2 separate regions of the Homo sapiens genome follow, and region 1 is linked to region 2. Evidence: promoter capture Hi-C in human tissues and cell types (Jung and others, 2019). All regions are on one chromosome and are shown on one strand. Each heading gives the region's core, a stretch centred on a gene start or on the middle of the fragment in contact. The rest is flanking DNA. Distances are from core to core; before and after follow the strand shown.

Region 1 (5,126 bases), core at 1,628-4,127, 710 kb after region 2:
GGAGCCATAGTTCTATCAATGATCAAAAGAAAAAAAAAAAAAGAGAAACTGTTACAGTATGATTCAGATCATTTAAAAAAGCAAAATCAAGTGCAATTTTGTTTACAAATGGTGTATATTAAAGATTTTTCTATTTCAGATGTACTTTAAAGAGAAATATTAGCTTAACTCTTTTGACATCTGCTATTGTGACACATCCCATTGCTGGCAATGTGGTGCACACTCCGAAACTTTTAACTACTGTTTTGTAAGCCTCCAAGGGTGGCATTGCAGGGTCCTTAGGCAATGTTTTGTTTGCCTTTATGCAGAGAGGTGCTCCAAGTGCTGTGATTGAGCACCGTGCTAGAGGAACTGTAATGCTTCAGAAGTTGTAGCTTATACAAAGGAAACAGGTCCTGCTGGCTTAATTTAAACAGTTATTGCATGAAGTAGCGTGGAGGCCCTGGACTGCTGCTCGTTCTTTAGGATGGACTGTTCTGGTATCTGGTATTGGTTTAGAGACTGTTAATAAGGGACATCACAAGGTGATGGGATTCATTTGAAGCACTCTATTTCTGTTTTAATGGTTTTATCCAATTTTGCCTTCCCAAGATTTTTGTTCTACATAAAAAGTTCATGCCACTTTTTAATATAAAAAAATTTAACAAAATTAATGTATTTTTCTCATTTTTTTCAAACTTTTTCTAAAGACTCTTTCTGTCAAACTCATGAAAAATTTCTTTCTATGGCTTTTATTCTAGATTGTCTTATTTTCTGTTAAAACCAATGACCACATGACCACAATCTTCACTAACTCATACTGCAGTGAAAGTGTTAACCCTTAGGTAGTTTCTCTACAACTCTTTGCTATGGTGATTTTTAAAAAAGTTTCCTAGGAAGTATCTCTGAGGAACAGCAATCTGAAGAACTGACTATATTCTCATGCTAAGTCATTAGCCAAAAGCTGGTGGTATTGTTGCATGCTGCTATTGCATATTAAAACGTAGCAGATGAATAATAGTTGTAATGCAGCAGGATAGTTGGTCAAATTATTTTTTTAGGCTGCTTTGATGTTGACTTGAGACTAGGAAAAAAAAAAGCCCATTGTGTTAAGCGGGAGTGTATAGTTCAAGTTCTATAGCCTGGGCCCTGATAATTCTACTTACAGCTTTCTGTATTACTGGGAATAGATATAGTGTGTCATTTCTTAGGTTCAGAAGAAATTGATAGCTTTGCAGTAATCTGTAAAACAATATAAACCTTAGGGTTTTGGGCCTGAACGAAAAGGTACTAGACCTTCCAGCACAACAGCTGGTAATTCTAAATTTTTAAGAAGGTGATCAGCTTCTATGGTGAAAATCAGCTATAACACAGGATTTGTGTAGCAATTTTCATGTTTTTGACTACTTGAAAGTACTTTTCACTTGATTATCAGAACAGCATTTGGTAAAGATGGGACAAGTATTCCTAATTTACATATGAAGAAACTGATATTGTGTAAAAATAAAATGACCAGGACCAGTTTTTTTGACTTCATATCACAGACTTACCCTTTTTCTTTTACATTTTTGCTTTAAACCCAAATGCTTAATTTTTTGACCTACGATGTTTTCCTAGGGGGAAATGACCAGATATAGATCATTCTTGCAGCCCAAACTTTGTTGTTTTTTAAGTCTTCAAGGGGAATACTAAGGTAACCGCAGACAGTACAGGTCCCAGGTCCTATAGGAGGAAAAGCCATGACACCTTCCTAAAGGAATATTAGGATGTAAGACACAGCTTTGGAAAGTTGAATTGGTAGGAATGTGGTCATCAAATTAAAAGGAGGCTTATTTCACTGACTTCCAAGAGTTAGTGAATCATCTCTTGCCTAAACTCTTGCTACTCAAAATGTGATCCAGGGACCAGCAACATCTGGGAGATTTTTGGTGCTCAACTGAGGGTCTTACTCTGGTCCTACTGAATCAAAAGAGGCATTTTAACAATGTCTCTAGGTGATTTGTATGCACGTTAAATTTGAAAAGCATTGGCCTCAAATGGTGGTTCTCAGGGTAATTTTGCCTCCCAGAGGACATACGGAAAAGAGACATTTTTATACCTCTGTGGGGAAGATAACTGGCATTTGGTGGGTGGAAGTTAGGGATGCTGTTAAACATCTTACATTGTACAGAACATGCCCCCTCCCCCAACAAGAAATTATCCTGTCCTAAATGCCGGTAGTGCTATCGCTGAACAACCCTAACCTAAAATGGTGGTTCTCAAGCTTTTAAGTGCATGGACTCACCTTGGGGTTTATTAAAACATAGGTTGCTGTTCCCTTCGAGTTTCAGATTCAGTAGAACTGGAATGGGCCTGAAACTTTGCATTTCTAACAAGTTCACAGGTGCTGCTGCTACTGCTGTTGTTGCTGGTCTAGAACCACTTTCAGAACCACTGGCCTAGAACAACCATGAAAGCATTAAGGTAAGGTGCTTGTACTAATTGGGATATAATGGTAATACTAAAGCTACCACTTACTGAGAGCTTAGTGGGTGTCAGGTGTTGCTAAGCGCTCACGACACTAGGTCACAGGTATTTACAAAAATTTTGCAGATTAGGAAAGTATGGCATCGAAATATTAAATTTTCTAAATCACAGCTAATTTCCTAATTGGTAGATCTCCGTCTGAGGTCGACGCCAAAGGCCGAGTTTTTAACCATCACGCCCACTGCCTAAAGCAGTTCTAAGATTAAGAGTTTGTTCCTTCTATGGTAAGCCCATGGCTACTCGGGATGGAGTAGCTATGGGTCCAGAGTGACGATGGCAACTCAGCAACAAAACAATTCATTTAGAGTGCACCGGGAGGAAGGGGCGGGACTTCGGCTGCGGAAGAGGCGGGCCTAACTAGCAGGAAGTCCGGGGTTGACGATGGCTGTGTTGTTGAAGGGCCTGTAGCCGGGGGGTTCCTGGCCGGATCCCGGTCTACCCTTAGCCCAGACTCGTTCCGGACCCCAGCCCGGCCCGGAACACTCTGGGCGAGACGGCGGTGGCAACTCTCCCCTTGCCGCCATGCACGACGCTTTCGAGCCAGTGCCGATCCTAGAAAAGCTGCCTCTGCAAATCGACTGTCTGGCTGCCTGGGGTGAGCCGAGGGGCCGCGGGGCCGAGGCGGAGTCAGCACAGGAGCGGTCCGGATCTTTTCTGAGGCCGGGGAAGTGGACAGGCGTCCATCCGTGTGGGCTTCGGTTGGATGCTACACGAGAGGGGCTTAGGATGAGAGAAGGCAGAGAGATGACCACCGGCTATAGACATCGATGTCTGTGGGGCTACTTGGGTGATCCCAGTGATCCAGTCATTTAGGGGAGTTCCCCTTGCTTTTGCTCTCTGTGCAGAGTGGGAGGATGAGCTTTCCTTTTTAGTTGTGCTCAGCTTTGGCCCATTTTGATTCCCACGAAGACTTCATTTTAGAGGGTCAAAGCAGTAAGAAGTTCTCAGCCTGCCAGGGGCTTGAAGTTGTCCAGATGTTTGTGTTGTTTTCTAGATGAAAGTCAACCCTGGTTTTGGGGGCATTGAACAAGTTAACACCATATGCTTTTTTTTCCCCTTAGTGATCATTCGTTCATTTCTCATTCCTGTAGGGAACTCATGTAGTTAGCTAACCTTTGAATCTAGCCAAGCGGTTGATTACCTTATATCCAAAGTGTCCAAGTTACCTAACTGTAGGCGGAAGAGTTTCCAGACTGTCTTGAAACCTAACCCATAAAAACTAGCATAGTCCTTTTGGGATTGACTAGTGCAGAAGGCCGGGACAGACATCTCTTGTGTGCTCTGAAATACAAATGAAGGTTTCAGGGATAACGGTGAACATTGTGCTCTTATCCGTGAGTGACTGGTTTGATACCAGCCGCCAAAGACCAAGGAAATCATTTCTAACTTTCCTCTTAATGTTTAGGTCCTAGAAATCAAGGACCATAAAAAGATGATTCAGATCCCTTAATCAGATCTTATACTGAGCTAGATAGGTAACCATGATGGGCCTTATGGAATCTTGGTGGTGTCTGATACCATGTGCGTCAGCTGTTCACAGTGTCACCGAGTCATCCTTGCAGAGTTCTTGATGACTTCTTCTGTAGGGTTCTTTCACGAAGAATTTTCATGTTAATGTGCACCCTTCCTCCTTTAGCAGCTCTGGGTCTCTTTAAAATCATACCTCCACAGTAAGCAGTTCTAGTCCTTTGGGTTAAGAGGAGAATCCTACTTCCTCCAGACATCTCAAGAAAACCAATTTCTGTCATTAAATGCTCTCATTAAACATTTAAATAGAGGAGGAGAAAAAGTTTTTAAATGAAAGACCTGACACTGCATGAAAGGATTAATTCCCCCATTGCTTCATCAGATATACTTATTAGGTGGCTACACGGGCCATTCTCTTTGCTTGGGACAGTAATACAATGATGAATAAGAAACAGTGCCTGTGCTCCTAGGACACACACTGGGGGACAAATACACGTGAACAGATTATAATACTAGAGACATATGCTGCCTATTATTGCAACATGGATGAGGGGGTACCCAACTCAGCTAAGGACATATGTTTCTGAAAGGGATTAATGCAGCTGTGGCTACACTTGACTTAGCTCGTCAGAATCCTTGACTCTGATCTCCTGTTGGACCATTAGCACATAGTGCTCCTAGACTCTCACCAACTCCACTTTGTCACAGTAAAGATTCCTTGCACCTGTGGTTTTCAGGAACACAGTTTTGAAACAATAGGTAGCTTTTGGCCTTCCTTGATCACCCACCGAACAGGAGAAATGCTCTTTGGTTCCTAAGGTGCTTAGGTACATATTAGGTTACAAGAGGCCATTAACTGCCTCCTGCTTCAAAAGTGCTTTATTTCCAGATTTGAGCAGCAGTAATTATTGCTCTTTCTAGTCATTACCCCTTTTTAACTACATTGTGCCTTTGGATGGAAAGTTCGTCCAGGAACTTCCAGAGGCAGGTCACACAGGGCCAAATAGTATTTGAGGTGTAAATGTCTTAGAGACAACATACTCTGTCTCCTGGGAAATAGAAATCAGGAGAGAACATGATGAGGATGATTTCTTTCTAAACTCCAAAGTTGTATAATCCTGCTGCCTTTTCAGCATCTTCATTTGGATGTCCAG
Region 2 (4,858 bases), core at 846-3,345:
AAAAAACCTCATGCCTGTAATCCCAGCACTTTGGGAGGCCAAGGCAGGAGGATCGCTTGAGCCCAGGAGTTTGAGACCAGCCTAAGTAACACAGGGAGATCCTGTCTCTACAAAAAACAAACAAAAATTTAGCCGGGCATGGTGGCTCACACCTGTGGTTCCAGCTACTAGGGAGACTGAGGGGGTGGATCGGAGGTTGAGGCTGCTGTGATCTGTGATCGCTCCACTGCACTCCAGGCTGGGTGACAGAGCAAGACCCCATCTCTTGAAATAAATAAATAAATAAATAAATACAAATCTATGACAAGGGAAAGTGTTTAGGATCATTATTGATCTAGTAAGGACTGTGTTGATCAGTAAAATAAAAAGTCTTTGAGAATTATGGAAAATATAGCTATAGCTTACTTCTTTCCACACTTAAAAAAAAATCCTATAGGAAATATTCTTTTACAAATATATAGCAAACAGTGTTTTCAATTTGAGGGTATGCTACTCAAAATTACTCTAGTCATGTATTCATTTTTTGTTCTTATTGAGGTTTTTGAGAGACACTCAAAATGTAGCTGGAGCTATTTCTGTTTGATTAGTAATATTGCAATATACCTTCAATATTTATGGATTTTTGAAATTAAATACATTTTATTTAGTTTTATTTCCTAGTCTTTTTTTTTTTTGTCATCCAGCATATTGTAAACAATGTGTGGTAGTGGAAGTTTTTTCCCCAGGCTTCAGTGGATAGAACCTTTTATGCCGAAAGTACTGAAAGCTTTCAAGTTAAATATCGTACATATTTGGTGAAAGAGCCTTTAAGGTCATATGAAAAAATTCAGTTTTTTAGAACTAAATTTTGAGCATAAGGACAACACATATTACTACTCAAAACTGCCTCATTAAAGTCTGGTGATCCTTGATTATAGGTTTATAATACAGATTGAAATTATATTATAACATAATATGAATGTCAATTTTGCTAGATAGTTTCTTCTTTTCAGTTGGTTATTTTTAAATAGCCTTCTTAGTATATTTTCATTAATGTCATGTGACTTTATTCTTGATGCTTAAGTGAACATATAGTACTTACAAACTTTTGTGAACATTTTGGATTTTTTTTCCTGTGATTTTTTTTTTAACCTTTGTCTCTATAATCCTTGGTGTTTTGGAGTGTTTATAGCTGTTTTTTATTGTATATAGGAATTTGCTTTCACTTCAGTTAGGGTAAAGCTTCCCAATGTGAAAAACTTAAGTGTCCTTTGAAAAGAATCTGGGATGTAATAGTGCCTCCTAAAGAGTGGAAGTTACTAAGTAGCTTCTTAGCTTCCTTTGGTAAGCTATCGAGATTTAACCATGTTTTCAGAATCATTATTTTTTTAAACAGAGAATTAACATCTTTATTGAAAACAAGAATCAGCATTTTAAAATGTTTGAATTAGAAAACATATTTGCCATTATATATGTTTTTACCAAAATGGTTTTATAATTAATATTTTTATATTTGTCTTTTTCTTTCTGCAGTTTCAAAGTAGTTGCCTTTAAAAAAATGGAGTTGCAGTTTCCATCATCTTGTTCTAGCCATATGATCATTGAAAGACTATATTTTGTTCATATTTTTCCAACATTGAATTTTCCACGTTATATATTATAGATGAAGTTTGTAAAGTCTTTTTAAATTTCTTGATCCTCCAAGTGCTTCAGTTTCAAAAATATCTAAAAGTTTTATCACCATTTTTCAGCCGGGTGTGGTGGCTCACACGTGTAATCCTAGCACTTTGGGAGGCCAAGGTAGGTAATTGAATCACTTGAGGTCAGGAGTTGGAGACAAGTCTGGCCAACGTGGCGAAACCGCATCCCAACTAAAAATAGAAAAATTAGCAGGATGTGGTGGCATGCACCTGTAATCTCAGCTACTTGGGAGGCTGAGGCAGGAGAATTGCTTGAACCCGGAGGCGGTGGTTGCAGTGAGCTAAGATTGTGCCACTGCACTCCAGCCTGGGTGACAGAGTGAAACTCTGTATCAAAAACAAAAACAAAAAACATTTTTCAATGACCAATAAGGCGAAGATGAGGGGAGGAAAATAGGAAAAAATGAATAACCAAAGAAAAAAATGTGAGCCTTGCCTCTCATGGAAATTTGATTTAAGAAAAATCATCTGGAGGCTAAATTATATGGTAGATAATAAACTAGATTAGGACTTCATTTCTGCTGGACTTCCCTAGCACTTAAAAAATTCAACATATCCAAGATAATAGTCAGTTCTCTTTTTAACTTCCTTAATTCTATAAATAAAGGCATTATCATTTAGTCATACAGGATCAAAACACACATTCTCTCTCTCTCTTTTCTTTTTTCTTTTTTCTTTTTGCTCCCTATTTCTCCTGGATCTCACCCACACAAAACCTCTGCTTTCTTTCTTTTTTTGGAGACAGGGTCTTGCTCTGTTGCCCAGGCTGGAGTGCCATGATCGTAGCTCACTGCAGCCTTGACCTCCTGGGATCAGGCAGTCCTCCCCCCTTAGCCTCCTGGGTAGCTGGGACTACGGGCATGTGCCACCACACTTGGCTAATTTTACAATTTTTTGTATAGGTGGGGTCCCACTATGTTGCCCAGGCTGGTCTTGAACTCCTGAATTCAAGCAATCCTCCCACCTCAGCCTCCCAAAGTGCAGGAATTATAGGCATGAGGCACAATGCCTAGCCCTCTGCATTTTATTTCCATTGCTACCACCTTACTTTGGTCTCTGTGAAACTTTAAACTACTGTAGTCATCCCCATCTAAGGGGCATGCATTCCAAGACCCCCAGTGGATGCCTGAAACCTCAGATAGTACCTTACCCTATAGATAATTATGCTTTTCCTATACATACATGGCTGTGATAAAGTTTATAAATTAAGCATAGTAAGGGAATAATAACAATAGCTAATAAAATAGAACAGTTATCGTAATATGCCAGCATCACTACTCTTGTGTTTTAGGGCCATTATTAAGTAAAATAAGAGTTAGTTACTTGAACACAAGCACTGCTATACTGAGACAGTGATCTAACAACCAAGATGGCTACTAAGTGACAAACAGCACAGACGGTGCAGATACATGCTGGACAAAGGGATGGTTCACGTCCTAGGTGCAACAGAGCTGAACAGCTTGAGATTTCATCACCATACTCAAAACAATATACAATTTAAAACGTATGAATTGTTTATTTCTGGAATTCTCCATTTAATATTTTTGGACTGTGGTTGACCACGGGTAACTGAAACTGCAGAAAGTGAAACCATGGATAAGGGGGATTACTGTGTAACAGTAGCCTCATTCCTTGATTAAATACTTGCTAAGCATCTACCATGTTACTGTGCTAGGGGTTGGAGATTTAACAGCCAACAAGACAAATAATCTACTCACTTTTGGAGCTTACAAATAGTGGAAGCAGAGATTTGCAGGAGAAGGAATTACAAGTGTTCCAGGTATTATGAAGGGAAGATGCAGACATGAGCATTTAACAGACCTAACAGTCAAGAGGTGGGTTCAGGGAAGAAGTTTCTGTTTCATCAGCCACAGTTCATTCTACATACTTCACCAGAGTCAGAGGCTAGTGGATATATTATCCCTATAATTAGTTAAATAATTAAATAAATAATGACAAAATAAATGTTTTTAAATTTAAAAGACTATTTGAAATTAAATGTCCACACAACCCATGAAACAGCTTTAGACAAGTTCTTTCAGAACACAAGAACACTTGAAAGAGTTTTGTCCTAAAGAGTCCCCACTCTCCCTCCAATATGGGTTTCTACTTTGGATTCTCCCAAGCCTCAATTACTTGAATACTGACAGAGTTCCTATGTTATGGTTTTACACTCTCTGTTTGAACCATGAGAACTTAGGACTGTGTTACCAGAAGCCAGAGTACAAGCCATGGTTACAAGAAAGAGGTGTTCCAAGTAGATGGCTATAGTGTCTCTGTAGCTAGGGTCCAGCAGCTTATCGGTGATTCATTAAATGTACAAGTGATTAGGATATAATATATTAGGATATATTATATTATACTGTGGCTGGCCAGTTTTGCTGTTTTTGAAAAAGGAAGTTAAGGCCAGGCGTGGTGGCTCATGCCTATAATCCTAGCACTTTGGGAGGCTGAGGCGGGCAGATCACGAGGTCATGAGTTTGAGACTAGCCTGGCCAATATGGTGAAACCCTGTCTCTACTAAAAAATATAAAAATTAGCCGGGTATGGTGGCACGCACCTGTAGTCCCAGCTACTTGGGAGGCTGAGGCAGGAGAATCGCTTGAATCCGGGAGGTGGAGGTTGCAGTGAGTCGAGACAGCACCATTGCACTCCAGCCTGGGTGACAGAGCAAAACTCCATCTCAAAAAAAAAAAAAGGAAGTTAATATACTTAAAATGTTATTGCAGTGAAGATACAGAAAAGGTTCTGTATTGATTTTTCTTTGTGTTAGTGGGAAGATCATAGACATAATGCTTTGCTCGGTTGATTTGGTTATAGTAGATTTTACCCGAGGAATGATTTTGTTTACCCAAGGAATGTGTAGTGTTTTCCTTAACAATCTGGTCATGTAAGTTATACTGTACTTCCTATAAGGGAAGAATTTGTTTATGTGTTGCTAGTATGGTAGCCAGGGAGAGGAAAACTAGGTTGTTTACACTTTTGTTGTCAGTAATTGTAACCATACTGACCTGTAAAGCTTCTCTTTACTTTTTTTTTTTTGAGACGGAGTCTCGCTCTGTCGCCCAGGCTGGAGTGCAGTGGCGTGATCTCGGCTCACTGCAAGCTCTGCCTCCCGGGTTCACGCCATTCTCCTGCCTCAGCCTCCTGAGTAGCTGGGACTACAGGCGCCCACCACC

What was found. Contacts are between HindIII fragments. The study calls those that stand out against the background at their distance.
Region 1: the fragment with the promoter of VPS39 here is called in contact with a fragment that was not itself captured in region 2 in 1 of the 25 tissues and cell types used here (dorsolateral prefrontal cortex).

The regions. Positions count from the first base shown.
Region 1 is chr15:42,206,055-42,211,180 of GRCh38, reverse strand. It overlaps VPS39 (VPS39 subunit of HOPS complex), which reads left to right and starts at 2,877. Exons shown (of 25, transcript NM_015289.5): 1 at 2,877-3,100. The coding sequence starts at 3,028. VPS39-DT (VPS39 divergent transcript) reads right to left here and starts at 2,780. Exons shown (of 3, transcript XR_932181.3): 1 at 2,497-2,780; 2 at 2,264-2,417. It overlaps TMEM87A (transmembrane protein 87A), which reads left to right. Exons shown (of 20, transcript NM_015497.5): 20 at 1-734. The HindIII fragment of the contact is 8,677 bases long and covers 1-5,126 here.
Region 2 is chr15:42,913,501-42,918,358 of GRCh38, reverse strand. All of the region lies in intron 1 of TTBK2 (tau tubulin kinase 2), which reads left to right. Among named protein-coding and RNA genes, the nearest start is that of TTBK2, 4.8 kb to the left of the region's middle. The HindIII fragment of the contact is 6,776 bases long and covers 1-4,858 here.